Linked DNA regions of Homo sapiens: region 1 is linked to region 2. Evidence: promoter capture Hi-C in human tissues and cell types (Jung and others, 2019). All regions are on one chromosome and are shown on one strand. Each heading gives the region's core, a stretch centred on a gene start or on the middle of the fragment in contact. The rest is flanking DNA. Distances are from core to core; before and after follow the strand shown. Region 1 holds the start of LOC107986717 (a long non-coding RNA gene). Region 2 holds the start of SH2B2 (SH2B adaptor protein 2).

What was found. Contacts are between HindIII fragments. The study calls those that stand out against the background at their distance.
Region 1: a fragment that was not itself captured here is called in contact with the fragment with the promoter of SH2B2 in region 2 in 2 of the 25 tissues and cell types used here (lymphoblastoid cells and spleen).

What each region holds. Positions count from the first base shown.
Region 1 is chr7:102,328,178-102,334,767 of GRCh38, forward strand. It overlaps LOC107986717 (a long non-coding RNA gene), which reads right to left and starts at 452. Exons shown (of 3, transcript XR_001744970.3): 1 at 362-452. The HindIII fragment of the contact is 5,280 bases long and covers 364-5,643 here.
Region 2 is chr7:102,281,649-102,288,684 of GRCh38, forward strand. SH2B2 (SH2B adaptor protein 2) reads left to right here and starts at 5,220. Exons shown (of 9, transcript NM_001359228.2): 1 at 5,220-5,446. It also overlaps a transcript of CUX1 not described here. RefSeq lists silencers at 2,576-2,760, 4,538-5,117, 5,188-5,727 and an enhancer at 6,878-6,967. The HindIII fragment of the contact is 12,688 bases long and covers 1-5,872 here.

The DNA.
Region 1 (6,590 bases), core at 1,754-4,253, 44 kb after region 2:
TGAGACAGAGTTTCACTCTCGTCACCCAGGCTGGAGTGCAATGGTGTGATCTCGGCTCACTACAACCTCTGCCTCCCAGGTTCAAGTGATTCTCCTGCCTCAGTCTCCCGAGTAGCTGGGATTACAGGTGTTTCACCATGTTGGCCAGGCTGGTCTCAAACTCCTGACCTCAGGTGATCCACCTGCCTTGGCCTCCCAAAGTGTTGGGATTACAGGCGTAAGCCACCACACCCGGCCAGGACAAAGTCTTAAAGGAAAACTTTCACATGAAAGCAATGGAGACGAAGAATGAGGAAATGAGGAGGGGAAGGACAACCCTTCCCAGTATTCTCTCCGAAGAAGAGAATCAAATGCTACTCACTTAGCGGGTAGAGAGATCACTGCTCTTTGTAGAGAAAAATAATCATGGCCCAGGAAGTCATCCATCATTCATCCATAAACGGGAGAGTAATATGGACCTAGAGTTAAATTTCACCCCGTGAAACATCAACCACGTCTTATCAATTCAAGTTTATAACATTGATATAATCGGGTACACCACAGCAGCACTGACAGAAATAGAAATGATTCAGAGAAAGCCAATTAAAACAGCCAGGGGACAAAGCAGATCTGTATGACATTAGCTTTTTTCCTTCCGGAAAGTTAAAAAACCAAGATATATTATTATAAACTATACAGAATAAACTCATATGTGGTAATAAATAAGGATACACAGACCTGTTTACAAAATCCCCAAGCAGAAGAACTAGGGGACACCAGATAAAAAGTTTATACAATTTACCAGGCAACAAGTAAAGAACTCTTTACTCACCCATCTGCCACCTCCCAGCCCCCACCAGGGGTTGTACATGCTGAACACAGAAATGTGTTTAAGAGAGGTTTAGACACGATGGATGATGGATTAAAAACAGGATGTGCTTGAACCCGGAAGGCGGAGGTTGCAGTGAGCCAAGATCACACCACTGCACTCCAGCCTGGGCGACAGGGCGAGACTCCATCTCATACAAACAAACAAACAAACAAAAAACAGGATGTACTACTATTTTGATGTCTACAACATCTAGGACCCCCCAAAAAAAACACCTGGAGCTGGAGGGAGGGTGTCACTGTGCTGAACGAGTACAGCACTTCTGGTGTATTCACACAGTCCCACGCATATTATCATCAATGTGGGAAAACGAGAGGGGGAAGGCTGCCACGGACACAGGAAGTGGCCGCACAATGCAACATCTACTTACCCTCTGAGGGATGGTTTGAGTCCCTGTCATCGAAGGGTAGACTGGCAGAGGAACTAGAAGATGCAGACAAGGCCCTCTTGGTACCTCCCGCAGCTCTCTGCAGTGGGGAAGACATGCTTGGCGAGGAGGAGCTATGGGGCCAGGAAGACGAGGACCGCAGGGTAGGTTTGGCAATCCAGCTGGGGAAGAAAGAGAAGAAAGGGCTCCTACCACAGCACTTCTCCATCCCCAGCCGTGAGCAGTCCCTTTCTTTGCAAGGGAATGGTTCTAGAACTGTGGGGTCAGGTGAGGGGGACCAAAAACTAAGACAAAGGCTGGGCACCGTGGCTCATGCCTATAATCCCAGCACTTTGGGAGGCCAGGGCAGGAGGATGGCTTGACCCAGGAGTTCAAGACCAGCCCGGGCAATACAGCAAGATCCCATTTCTACAAAAAAAATAATACTAATTAGCCAGGTGTGGTAGCACGTGCCTGTATTCAGCTATTCAGGAGGCTAAGGTGGGAGGACTGCTTGAGTCCAGGAGTTCAAAGCTGCAGTGAGCTATGATCGCACCACTGTACTCCAGCCAGGGTGACAGAGTGAGACTCTGTCTCAAAAAATAAAAATTAAAAAATAAAAAATAAAAGGAGACATTATAGGAGGCAAGTCTGCAAAGCCTTAACTACAAACTAAAGAAACCAAAAGGAAAAAGAAGACTTTAAAAAATCTTTAGAAGTCTAAGAAGTCTTAAGTCTGTTCCGGGTGGAGCAGAGTTAAGTATGCCAATTAAATTATTGGGTGCTGGCCGGGCATGGTGGCTCACATCTGTAATCCCAGCACTTTGGAAGGGCAAGGCAGGTGGATCACTTGAGGTCAGGAGTTCGAGAGGACAACACGATGAAACTCCATCTCTACTGATGGATGTGAAAGGATGACTCCATCTCAAAAAAAAAAAAAAATTACGTGCTGACTGAAAATAAATTTGAAAGCAAGGTGTGTGACAGGGAAGGCTACTACCTGTGTAATATTCTGTTACTTAATGATAAGTCCTGAGTCATATTTCCAATCTCTCTTAACCAGCCTGTATTTGTACATTGCTTGTGTACAAGCTTGCTAATTTCCACAAATGGCAGTAGGTTGTCTGCTCCAATAGGGCCAAAAATGCATCTACTGGATTCAAAGCTCAGTAAGGGCCAGGTGCAGTGGCTCATGCCTGTAATCTTGGCACTTTGGGAGGCCAAGGCAGGCAGATCACTTGAGGTCAGGAGTTTGAGACCAGCCTGGCCAACATGGTGAAACCCCTTCTCTACTAAAAATACAAAAAATTGCTGGCCGTGGTGGTGGGCACCTGTAATACCAGCTACTGGGGAGGCTGAGGCAGGAGAATTGCTTGAACCTGGGAGACGGCAGCTGCAGTGAGCCGAGATCATGACACTGCACTGCAGCCTGGACGACAGAGTGAGACTCCGTCTCAAAAAAACTCAGTCAGGAATGAAGAATGTCTGAAGTACTGTATGTGTAACGTGGCTTGTGATTCTTAAGCCCTGAGTGCAGCTTGAGCTAGTCCTTCATGATCTAATACCAAAATGTTCAAGATCTGTTTTATGTCATTGGTGCCTTCTAATGTTGGCCTGTTGTTTTCCTTGCTGAGACTAGATTATGATGTGGTATATTGTTTTTATCAATTTAACTTATAAGTATTTATAAGCAGCTTATTCTTCATGTTGCTCTCATTTACCCTGGAGATGCTTGATTGCTTTTTTTTTGTTTTTTTTTTTTTTTTTTGAGACAGGGTTTCACTCTGTTGCCCATGCTGGAGTGCAGTGGCACGATCACAGCTCAATGCAGCCCTGACCTCCTGGGCTCAAGTGATTCTACCACCTCAGCCTCCTGAATAGCTGGGACTACAGGCACGTGCTACAACACCTGGCTAAGTTTTGTACTTTTTGTAAAGATGGGGTTTCACCATGTTGCCCAGATTGGTTTTGAACTCCTAGGTTCAAGTGGTCCTCCTGCCTTGGTCTCCCAAAGTGCTGGGATTACAGATGTGAGCCACCATGCCTGGCCAAGATGTTTTATTGCTAATTATTTGTCTGTCCACATTGTTATCATCTCCTAGAGAAATTGCTAGAAGAGTGAGATTACGTGTCCTCTAAGTTATAAGTTCACAAATAAAAGCCCAAAGGAAGTTAGGTAGCAGACTTAAAAACAAATTAAAAAGACCCTGCAAAACTTGGTCTTAAATGAAAGGTGACATTCTCCAACCTGGGTTGTCTTTCTGGTTTCATGGGACTGTGCAGTGCAGTTGGAGGGTGACTGGGCCCTGTTTCCACGGCACTCTCTAGGTGCAGGGACCATTGAACCATGTCTGCTATTCCTGTCTTAGCTCTGTACTGAAATAACAGTTGTGTTACTGGGTTTCAAAAGAAAGTCCATCCCTCCTGATCTAGGCAGAAAGCCATTAAAGAAAACAGAAGGATAATGAGCAGTGGGAAAACAAACCAGAAAAGTTACCGATTCACCCATCTTGTGTCAGAATCGACAGGCCTGTTGCTCCTGCTGGAAACCTAGGATGTACGTTTGCAATGAGAAAAGAGTGAAAGACTTGAGCAGGTACATTACGAAAGAGCAATCACAGCGGCCAGTGAATATGAAAAGGTCCTCAACTTAGAGAAGTCTGGAGAAATCCAAACTAAAACTACCCTAGGATACCACGCTACACCCACCAGCTTTAGGCAGGATGCAAACATCAGGAATTCTACCCTGCTGGTGAGCAGTGAGAGAGCGCATAAACCAGTATAACAACTTTGGAAAACAATTTAGTAGGGTGGAAAGCCAGGTGGACCACTGAGCCAGCAGTCCCATTCATTAGTACATACCCCATGCCTGCTCCTCTGTGTAAGAATATTCACTGCAGAGACCGGGCGCGGTGGCTCACGCCTGTAATTCCAGCACTTTGGGAGGCCGAGGTGGGCGGATCATGAGGTTAGGAGATAGAGACCATCCTGGCTAACACAGTGAAACCCCGTCTCTACTAAAAACACAAAAAGTTAGCCAGGCGTGGTGGCGGGTACCTGTAGTCCCAGCTACTCTGGAGGCTGAGGCAGGAGAATGGCGTGAACCCAGGAGGTGGAGGTTGCAGTGAGCCGAGATCACGCCACTGCACTCCAACCTGGGCAACAGAGCGAGACTCTGTCTCCAAAAAAAACAAAAAAAAAGAATATTCCCTGCAGAATTGTTCATAGCAGGTTAAAATGGAAAACAATCCAGTGTCCCTGAGCAAGAAGGAGGGATAAATATATGGTGGAGAGTCATGAAATAGAACAGCATACTACAGAGAAAATGAATACTTCTGTTGTTACAATAAAATGACTTCTAAAATAATGTCTACAAAAAAGAAGCCAGGGCTGGGCACCAGTGGCTCATGTTTGTAATCCCAGCACTTTGGGGGGCTGGGGTTACAAGATCACTTGAGGCCACGAGATGGAGACCACCTTGGATCTCGTTAACCACCTTTTATGTAGAGATGTGGTGAGACCCCATCTCTACATGGAAAAAAAAAGCCAGACATATTAAATATACGCTGTATGCTTACCTATATTGTGATACCCTACCTTATTTTAACGTGATTGTCTCTCTTAGCTGAGAGAGCCAGACAGGCTCCATTTTAGTTCCTTCACTTGCAGCCCCCTCCCTTAAAGGCATAACTAGTCTAAGCTGACTCCATGCACGTCTAGGAATGCACTTACTGATAAGGTATCGAGGCAAGCTGAACCAGCAGCTCTTGGGGACTCGCTCGGTGGATGATACCAAAAGACCCTGCATTTATCTCTTTGTGGTAGTTTGAGCCCCTGCACCTGGAACTGTTTATTTTTCTGTAACTATTTATGTAACCAATTAATCTTTTTAATTTTTCCCTGTTCTGCTTCTGTAAAAATTGTTTCAGCTAAACTCCCCCTCCCCTATTTAGACCACGGTATAAAAAGAAATCTAGCCCCTTCTTCGGGGCCAAAAGAATTTTGAGCTCTAGCCATCTCTCAGTCACCGGCAATAAAGGACTCCTAAATCAGTCTCATGGTGCGGCGTTTCTCTATAACTCGCTCGGTTACAACAATATCAAGACTATATTGTTTAGGGGCCAGGCATGGTGGCTCACGCCTGTAATCCCAGCACTTTGGGAGGTCGAGGCAGGCAGATCGCTGGAGGTCAGGAGTTCGAGACCAGCCTGGCCAACATGGTGAAACCCTGACTCTACTAAAAATACAACATTAGCCGGGTGCAGTGGACGGCGCCTGTAATCTCAGCTACTCAGGAGGCTGAGGCGGGAGAACTGCTTGAACCCGGGAGTCAGAGGTTGCAGTGAGCCGAGATCATGCCACTGCACTCCAGCCTGGGTGACAGAGTGAGATTCTGTCTGAAAAAAACAAACAAAAAAAACAAACAAAAACCCAGACTATATTGTTTAGGGATACTTAGTTGACAAAATAACAGACACAAACAGGACATAATTACCATAAAAATCAGGACCTGGGGGGGGGGGTTGGGGGGGGAGATTTAAGTGGAAAGAATGGAGCGGTGACAATGTGTGTCAACCTGGGAGGTGGTGACCCTGGGGTTCGCTTTGTAATTCCTCAAAATGAGCATTTATGTGCTATTCACTTTTCACAGGGCAGAATCTCTGAACTAACATGTTTACGCAGCCATATGCAAAAAAAAAAAAATGGATAATTTGTATTCTAATTAAAATATTTAAAAATTGGAGACAAGGCGGCCGGGCGCGGTGGCTCAGGCCTGTAATCCCAGCACTTTGGGAGGCTGAGGCGGGTGGATCACAAGGTCAGGAGATCGAGCCCATCCTGGCTAACACAGTGAAACCCTGTCTCTACTAAAAACACACACAAAAAAATTAGCCGGGCGTGGTGGCAGGCGCCTGTAGTCCCAGCTACTCGGGAGGCTGAGGCAGGAGAATGGCGTGAACCTGGGAGGCGGAGCTTGCAGTGAGCCGAGATCAGGCCACTGCATTCCAGCCTGGGCGACAGAGCTAGACTCCGACTCAAAAAAAAAAAAAAAATAGAGACAAGGAACTAACTATGTTGCTCACGCTGGTCTCAAACTCTCAGGGCTCAAGCAATCCTCCCGCCTCGGTCTCCCAAGGCGCTGAGATTCCAGGCATGAACCACTGTGCCCAACCAGGGAAAAATAAAATAAAATAAATAAATAAATGTATATATATATACATACACACACACGGGTGTGTATGTATATATATATGTATATATACACACACGTGTGTATGTATATATACACACACGTGTGTATATATATATACACACACGTGTATATATATACACACACGTGTATATATACACACA
Region 2 (7,036 bases), core at 3,970-6,469:
GGAGACTCTGTCTCAAAAAAAAAAGAATTCCAGCAGCCCATGTCCCTGGCCCATAATGATGGAATAGGGGCCCCAGCTTCCTGTCCCTTCCCTCCCCTTGCCACCCTAGGGCCCTTTCTGTGAAGCCCAGGCAGCCCTGCAGGGGTGGGTGAGGCCGGCCCCATCCCCACTCACCCCCTCCTTGCTCCCAGGGGCGTCTGGTTCTCTCCAACAAGATGGCGCGCACCATCGGCTTCTTCTACACACTGTTCCTGCACTGCCTGGTCTTCCTGGTGAGTGTGCACACGGGCGGGCCAGAGGCACATTCACCATCCCCAGCCCTGACCTCCAGGGCAGCAGGGGCCTGTTACGGTGGCCTGGCCCCTGGGCCTACCCCAAGCTGCATCTCTAGCTTGCGGCCATGCCTCTCCCCTTCGAGAGCCTTGGCCCACCCCAGGGACGAGAAGGACCCACCCCATTGGGACCTCTGGCCAGGGCACCAGCCGGGCCGCTCCGTGAAAGAGGCCTGGCTGATCACATCTGGGACTGGTCCTGAACGGGCTTCATAGGAAGAAGGGATGGAGTGGGAAGGGAGCAGGTCTAATGAACTCCACCAAGGGACAGTCACGAAGACTGCACAGAGAAGGGGCGTCTTGAACTAACCTCCCCAGCTGTGGAGGTGGCGTTCTAGTTAGCGGATAAGGGCCTCCATGTCTGCCAAGTTGGGGGAGAAGAGGGGTGGAAGGCTGTGTCTCTGGAAGGATCCAGCCTTGGGGACTCCTGTCCCCCGCACAGTCAAGATGGCCCCTACAGAGCTAACCTGGGCTCAAGTTCTGACCCCAGGGTCCAGCGGCTCCTGGCCCTTCCAAGGGTTGGCCCACAGTATTAGAGGAGGTGCCTCCGTGTCTGGGCCCATCTGATCATCTGCAGAAGCAGTGGGTGCAGGAACATGTCTAAGACCCACCCGCCCCGGAGTCTGGGGCTCGAGAACCTTTATGTTCCAGGCCAGGCCCAGGGGCCATGGGTGGGCTGCAGGGGTGGCCTTGAGGCGAACGGGCAGCTCACCGTGTCTCCACCTGGCCAGGTGCTCTACAAGCTGGCATGGAGCGAGAGCATGGAGAGGGACTGTGCCACCTTCTGCGCCAAGAAGTGAGGACCCCCACTTGGGCCCCCCCTCAGCCCCACAGCGAGCTCCCAGCACCCCCGCAACACCCCCGAGTTCCTGCCTCATGTCCCCCACTCCTTAGCCCTCCATCACAGCCCCCCATTCTGGCCCTCCCCCTACCCCTACTCCCGGTATCCACTACCCCCTAGCCCCACCCCATCACATGGTACACACCCCCCTTCCCCAACACACACACTCGGCCTCAGCAAAGCTTCCCGTGTCCCCCAGGTTCGCTGACCACCTGCACAAGTTCCACGAGAATGACAACGGGGCTGCGGCTGGTGACTTGTGGCAGTGATACCCCGGGGCCTCCCCCGTGACAGTGACGGCTGCGCCTCCACCCCGACTGCTCAGTGCATCTAATCACTTAGACTCCCCTGAAGAATCCCCCATGGAAACTGCCCTTATCCGCTGTCCAGCAGCTGCCAGAGGCCCCAGGTCACCTCGGGTCCCCTTGAAAGAATGTCTCGGTCACATCAGGCCCGCTAGGTCCAGAGAGCGAGCCCCCAATGCCCGGCCAGGCTAAGCCGCAGAGACCCTCTCAGCCCCCACCTCAGGTTAGGGCTCTGCCCGCAGCCTGACCTCTAGCCCTGGTGGCAGAGGTCCCTCAGCTGCGAGGCTAATTGGGTGACCACCGATTCCAGCTGCGGTTAATCCAGCTTGGGCCTGTCTGCACTGCGATCCTCTTGGGCTCTCCTAGGATCCCCCCATGCCCCGTAAGAGGTGGAAGACGCTTCCTTCCAGGACAGCAGGCTTTGAGTCCAGCACCCCCAGCCTGCCTTTGCCACCAGCCCCACCCTGCAGAGTATATGAGGCTTGACAGAGTCTGCCCCCTCCCCCACTGCACCCCAAGAGAGAGAGCCCCAGCCAGCGGAACAGTTTCTATTACCCCCTCCCTGCCCCCAGACCCATGTGATTTCTGCTTTCTTCTTTAGCAAGATATTCTGGTTTCTAGATAAGGAAGAGTCTCTAATGAGCCCCCGAGCCCCAGTCTCTTCAGACTCATGGATTGGTATGAGGGGTCTGAACGTCTCCTAGCCAATCAGAACTGGCTGTGGACCACCCTAGCACGGCCACCTCTCAGGGCCACTGGCAGGCCTTCCTGAGTTAGATTTGTAGTTGCATATTTAGCTTTGCACATTTGAAATAAACCACGGTTGCAGCCACCCTGGTGCCCTGTGCTCTGGGACGCTGGAGGGACTGGAGGCTGGTGGGGATGCCTGCGGTGCCACCCCTGGGAGCTGGGGCTGGCCTCACAGCTGGGCACACAGAACATTCCTCCCCCTCTTCTCATCTCCAGGAATTCCATGAGTACATTCAGAGCTCTGCTGAAACCCAGATCCAGTGTCCGAGTGCTTTTGAGAGGACAAGTAGCACCATCAAAAAGGGAAACCCATTCCTTTATTCAAAAACCACCCGGGGCCAGGCGCGGTGGGTCACACCTGTAATCCCAGCGCTTTGGGAGGCCGAGGCAGGTGGATCACTTGAGGTCAGGAGTTCGTGACCAGCCTGGCCAACGTGGTGAAACCCCGTCTCTACCAAAAATACAAAAATTAGCTGGGCATGGTGGCGCATGCCTGTAATCCCAGCCACTCAGGAGGGTGAGGCAGGAGAATCGTTTGAACCCGGGAGGCGGAGGTTGCAGTGAGCTGAGATCGTGCCAGTGCACTCCAGCCTGGGAAACAGAGTGAGACTCCATCTCAAAAAAAAAAAAAAAACCACCTGTCGGGCTGTGGTTGGGTGTATGACGTGTCTTGGTCCACGTCAGTTCCTGGGGAATCTCTGCTTCCCTTTCTGTGCTCCCCTTTCCCATGGGCCCCCGCCTGCCAGGGGCTGCAAAGCCCGTGCCCATCAATCTCCCTGAGCACCAGCCTCGCATGGGAACCCCCCGAGACACAGGTTCTGGGCCACCTCACCTCCAGCCCAGCCTCAGATAGAGGAGCGCATTCTCTGGGTCTGGAGTGGGTGCATTAACTCATTGTCCAGCTGTCACAAGACTGGCTGCAAACCCAGGTCCCCCACTGCAGCCCACCAGGCCAGGGTCCCCTGTGCTACCTCTGTCTCCATTTTAGTTCTGAACAGTCTAAAGCATGTGTATCCAGGGGCCTTTCTTTGGGGTCCCCGTCCCAGCACCCCTCATCTCCCCCATGAGGACTTCTTCCAAGCCCCTCAAGCCTCCTGCCCTCAGGGACCCAGGATGGACCTTTCCTCCCTGACCTTCATTCCTATCCCCAGCGAGGCGACAGCTGCTCTTGGCCAACCACGCCCCCTCCACCCCCACAGCCACTTCCACATCTCCATCAGTTCCTCCTTGTGGGTCCGAGGCGCTCTGCCGCCGGCCCCTCCTCACTTCTTCCTCCCTGGGGATGGATCCAAGCTATTGTCCTGCCCATGGCTTCCCATCTCAGGACCCTCTCTGGCCGCTATCATCCCAGCAGTGGAGTTCAGCCCACTACTCTGAACCAGGTTAGTCCACCGCGGGTCAGGCTCTCCCCTCTCCCAGGAGGGTGGAGACCACAACCAGGCCATGTATGGAGCTTCCCTTTCTCCCACTCTCGGGCACCCCCTCCTCCCCCTTCCCGGCCTCATTCATAGGTGTCCTGGTTCCCAACCAGGCGTGCAGGCCTGTGTGCAGCTCCGATCGAGGGCTGGCCCACTGCCGAAGCTTTCATTAAAGTGTCTGCTGGCCTGGTCCTGCGGAGGGAACAGAGCCGAGATGTGGGGCAGGGAAGGGGTCTGCCTGTCTTCCGTGCCCCCGTGGAGGGCAGCACCGGGGTTTTGGGCAGCAGGTGAAGGCTCTGTCCCCTCCACCTTCAACTCTGGAAGCCCCACCTTTCCATCCCTAAGAAGGGTTTGATAAAAACCCTTGTCTGTAAATTAGAGATGGGAAATGGCTCTGGGAAAAGTCAGAGGTCAGTTTGGGCCCGGGAGGGCGACAGATGGAGGCAGCTCCGGCTGGCAAGGAGACCAGGACAGAACTGCCAGAGGTGGGGGCAGGGGACAAGGAGGGAGATGAGGGGAGAAGACACCCAGGGGTCCCCCCCTGCTATCTCCAGGAGCAAGACTACTCTCTTCTCTGAGCGGCCCTTTCCACACCTCTGCCCCCACCGAAGCCCTCCCTCCCCTCTCAGACCCCTTCCAGGCCTGCTGAGCCCCCTGCACCTCTTTCAGGAAGCCTCCCAGAGCCCCCGCGCTGTGCCCTCAGCACCAGGGGTCAGGCTACAAATGCCCCGCAAAGCCCAGCGGGACTGTTTCCTCAGCCCCACTGGTCTCTGCCCTAAAGCAGGCGAGTTCTGGAGCCAGGCAGGGGTGAGGAAGGTGCCAGGGTTGTGGCCCCTCATCGCCCCTCTATGATCTCTGACACCTCTCCGGGTGGCATCAGGCCCCCATCACAGCGAAGGCTGGGTGGTGGGGGCACTGCGCTCAGGGGGGCCGTCCCGCCCTGTGGCCCGGGGGCGATTTCCCGCACCGGAGGGCTGCAGGGAGGGGGCGTGGTGGCGCCCTCGAGATTTATGAGAACCAGGCGTCGACTTCCTCCGTTGCGACATCCAGGCCTCCTCCAGGCTCCCATTGTCCCTGCTGCGGAGAGTCTGGCCACAGCGGCGGCTCCCGCGAAGCACCCGTCAGCGAGGGGCGCTTCGAGGGCGTCCGCGTCCCATACACCCGCCACGCAGGACATTCCCCCGGCCCCACGCTCCGCGCTCCCGGGGCCACCACCACCGCGGGCTCGAGGGGTGGCCTCCACGAGGAGGAGTGGGAGTCCCGCGCCTGGCCTGGGGCCGGCTCGGCGACATGGGGACCCCCGCCCAGATGGGGCGACTCGGAGCCGGCTCCTAACCCCTCTCTCCGGGCCCCAGGACCGGGCAGTCTCGGCACCGCAGCTGCGGGGAGCCAGCAAGCACCGGCCACCGGCGCCGCTCGGGCTCCGCGGATGGCCGGGGGCGGGGCCTGAGCGGCGCAAGTGGGGGCGGGAGGGGGCGGGGCCAGGACGCGCGAGGGGGGGCGGGGCCGGGGCTCGCGGCGGGGGCGGGGGCGGGGCGGGGCCGGGAGGCGCGCGCCTCGCGGGCGGAGGGGCGCGCCGCGCTGGGGCTGGGCTTGGAGCGCGCGGAGCTCGGCTGCCAGAGAGCCGCGCGGGGGACGCGCCGGGACCGCGAGGAGCGCAGGAGCCTTCGAGGCGGTGAACGAGGGAGGGAGCCCAGTCCGCCGCGGGCCATGAGCCACCGGGCCCGGGGAGCCCGGCCGCGGTCCGGGCAGCGCTCAGCCGGCGCCCCAGCCCGCTCGGCCGCAGCTGCGCGCCTGTAGGTATGGCCTCCTTATACCCAGTTCCTCGCTCCCTGGTCCTTCCCCCGGGACCCCTGTCTGTCCCCGGGGACGTGCGCTGTGTGCGCACCGCTGCCCGAAGGAGAGCGGCCGCACGCGCCTTGGTCCGCGCGTGTCGTCTTTGTGTGCGCGGGTGGGAGGGAGGAGGGCGCGCGAGGGAGGGGAGGCGCCCCCGGCTGGGATCTGCTCCCCGATCCCCATCCCGGGCGGGGCGGGGAGCCGCTGGAGGGGCCGAGCCGCCTCTGGAGCAGCTGCGCCCCCGCCCCCTGCTAGGGCCCCGGCCGGGTAGTGGGGCGAGAGCAGCCGGGTCCTTAGAGGAGGGGTCTCTGGTTGGGGGAAGGGGTGCCCAGGTCTCTTCCCTACGCTGGGAGCGCTGGGAGGGGGCGTCAACCTAGAATGAGGGTGAGGGCCACGGGATGGGATCGGGGAGGACCTCCTCCAGGCCACAGGCACGCCCTCCCTTTGGCCCAGGCCCCCCTTTCTCGACCTGCCCAGCCGGGGAGCTCCCCGGAGCCCCCGATTGCCGGGAGGATCGTGGAGGGTGCCCAAGAGGCCGGCGCCTTTAAGAAGGGGCGGGTTCGTGCCCTCCATTCAGGCCCTTGGGCCTCGGCCATTGATGAACCTGCGGGCTGCGCGGGCCGGAACCGCGCCAGCCCAGCGGGCTGAAGCCGGGCAGAGGCAGGGACGCATCCTGGCCCCCTGCAGCCCCGAAGTGGGGGCCTTCAGGGAGGGAAGTCTGCAGTGACTGGAGCCTCTCAGGAGCCACGCAAGGCAGACCGGGCAGCCCCAGGCGAGACTCTGAACACGAATAAGCCAGGATCTACGTGCACTTCGAGCTAGTGCAAGGGAGAGCCTCAGGCTAGGCTGTCAGACCTGGGTGGAGCCCTACCAATGCCCCCGAGCCAACATCACCTACCCTGTAAAATGGGATGGTGCTGCCTGCCTCCTGGCTAAGGGACCGGCAACTCCCGGCAGGAATTGCGTCCCAGAGTCAGGTCCCTGGAGCTCCTCTGGGAGGACTGGGGGCAGGGGGTGTGGTTTCCCCAAGAGGTTTTGACTGCCTCTTGAGCTGAAGCCCCCACTACTGTGTCCCACCTTGAACTCTCCCAACCTCTTCCCTCCTGGCCTCCCCACTCCACGCAGGAAGAGGTTGGGAGAGTGACCTAGAACTTTTCAGCTCCAGGAGCTTTGGGAGAGGTCTGGTGGTGGCGGTGGTGGCACTTCTTTTAGGCTAGTGTGGATCAGGGCATTTTTGGGGGTCTCAGAGACAGTTTCCCACCAGCTACTTCCTTAGAGGTCTGTCCTACCAACATACAAGAACAGCCCCACCCCGTGGCAGGCCGGCTTCTGATGCTGCTTGGTTGAATGCTTCTAGGTAATCAAGGGTTAATGCACACGCTTTTCTTTTTACCCTTGTTGTGAAAAATCTGTCTGAAGTTTCTAAATCCCTCTTCCCTACTTAGCGTGAATCTCCTAGGGAGGACTTCTATACAAATACCCAGGGGTGGGCTTCCCTTGGGGGTCTTGGAAGTGGGATCTCCACCCAAGTGATCCTGGGCCTCCCAGGGCTGA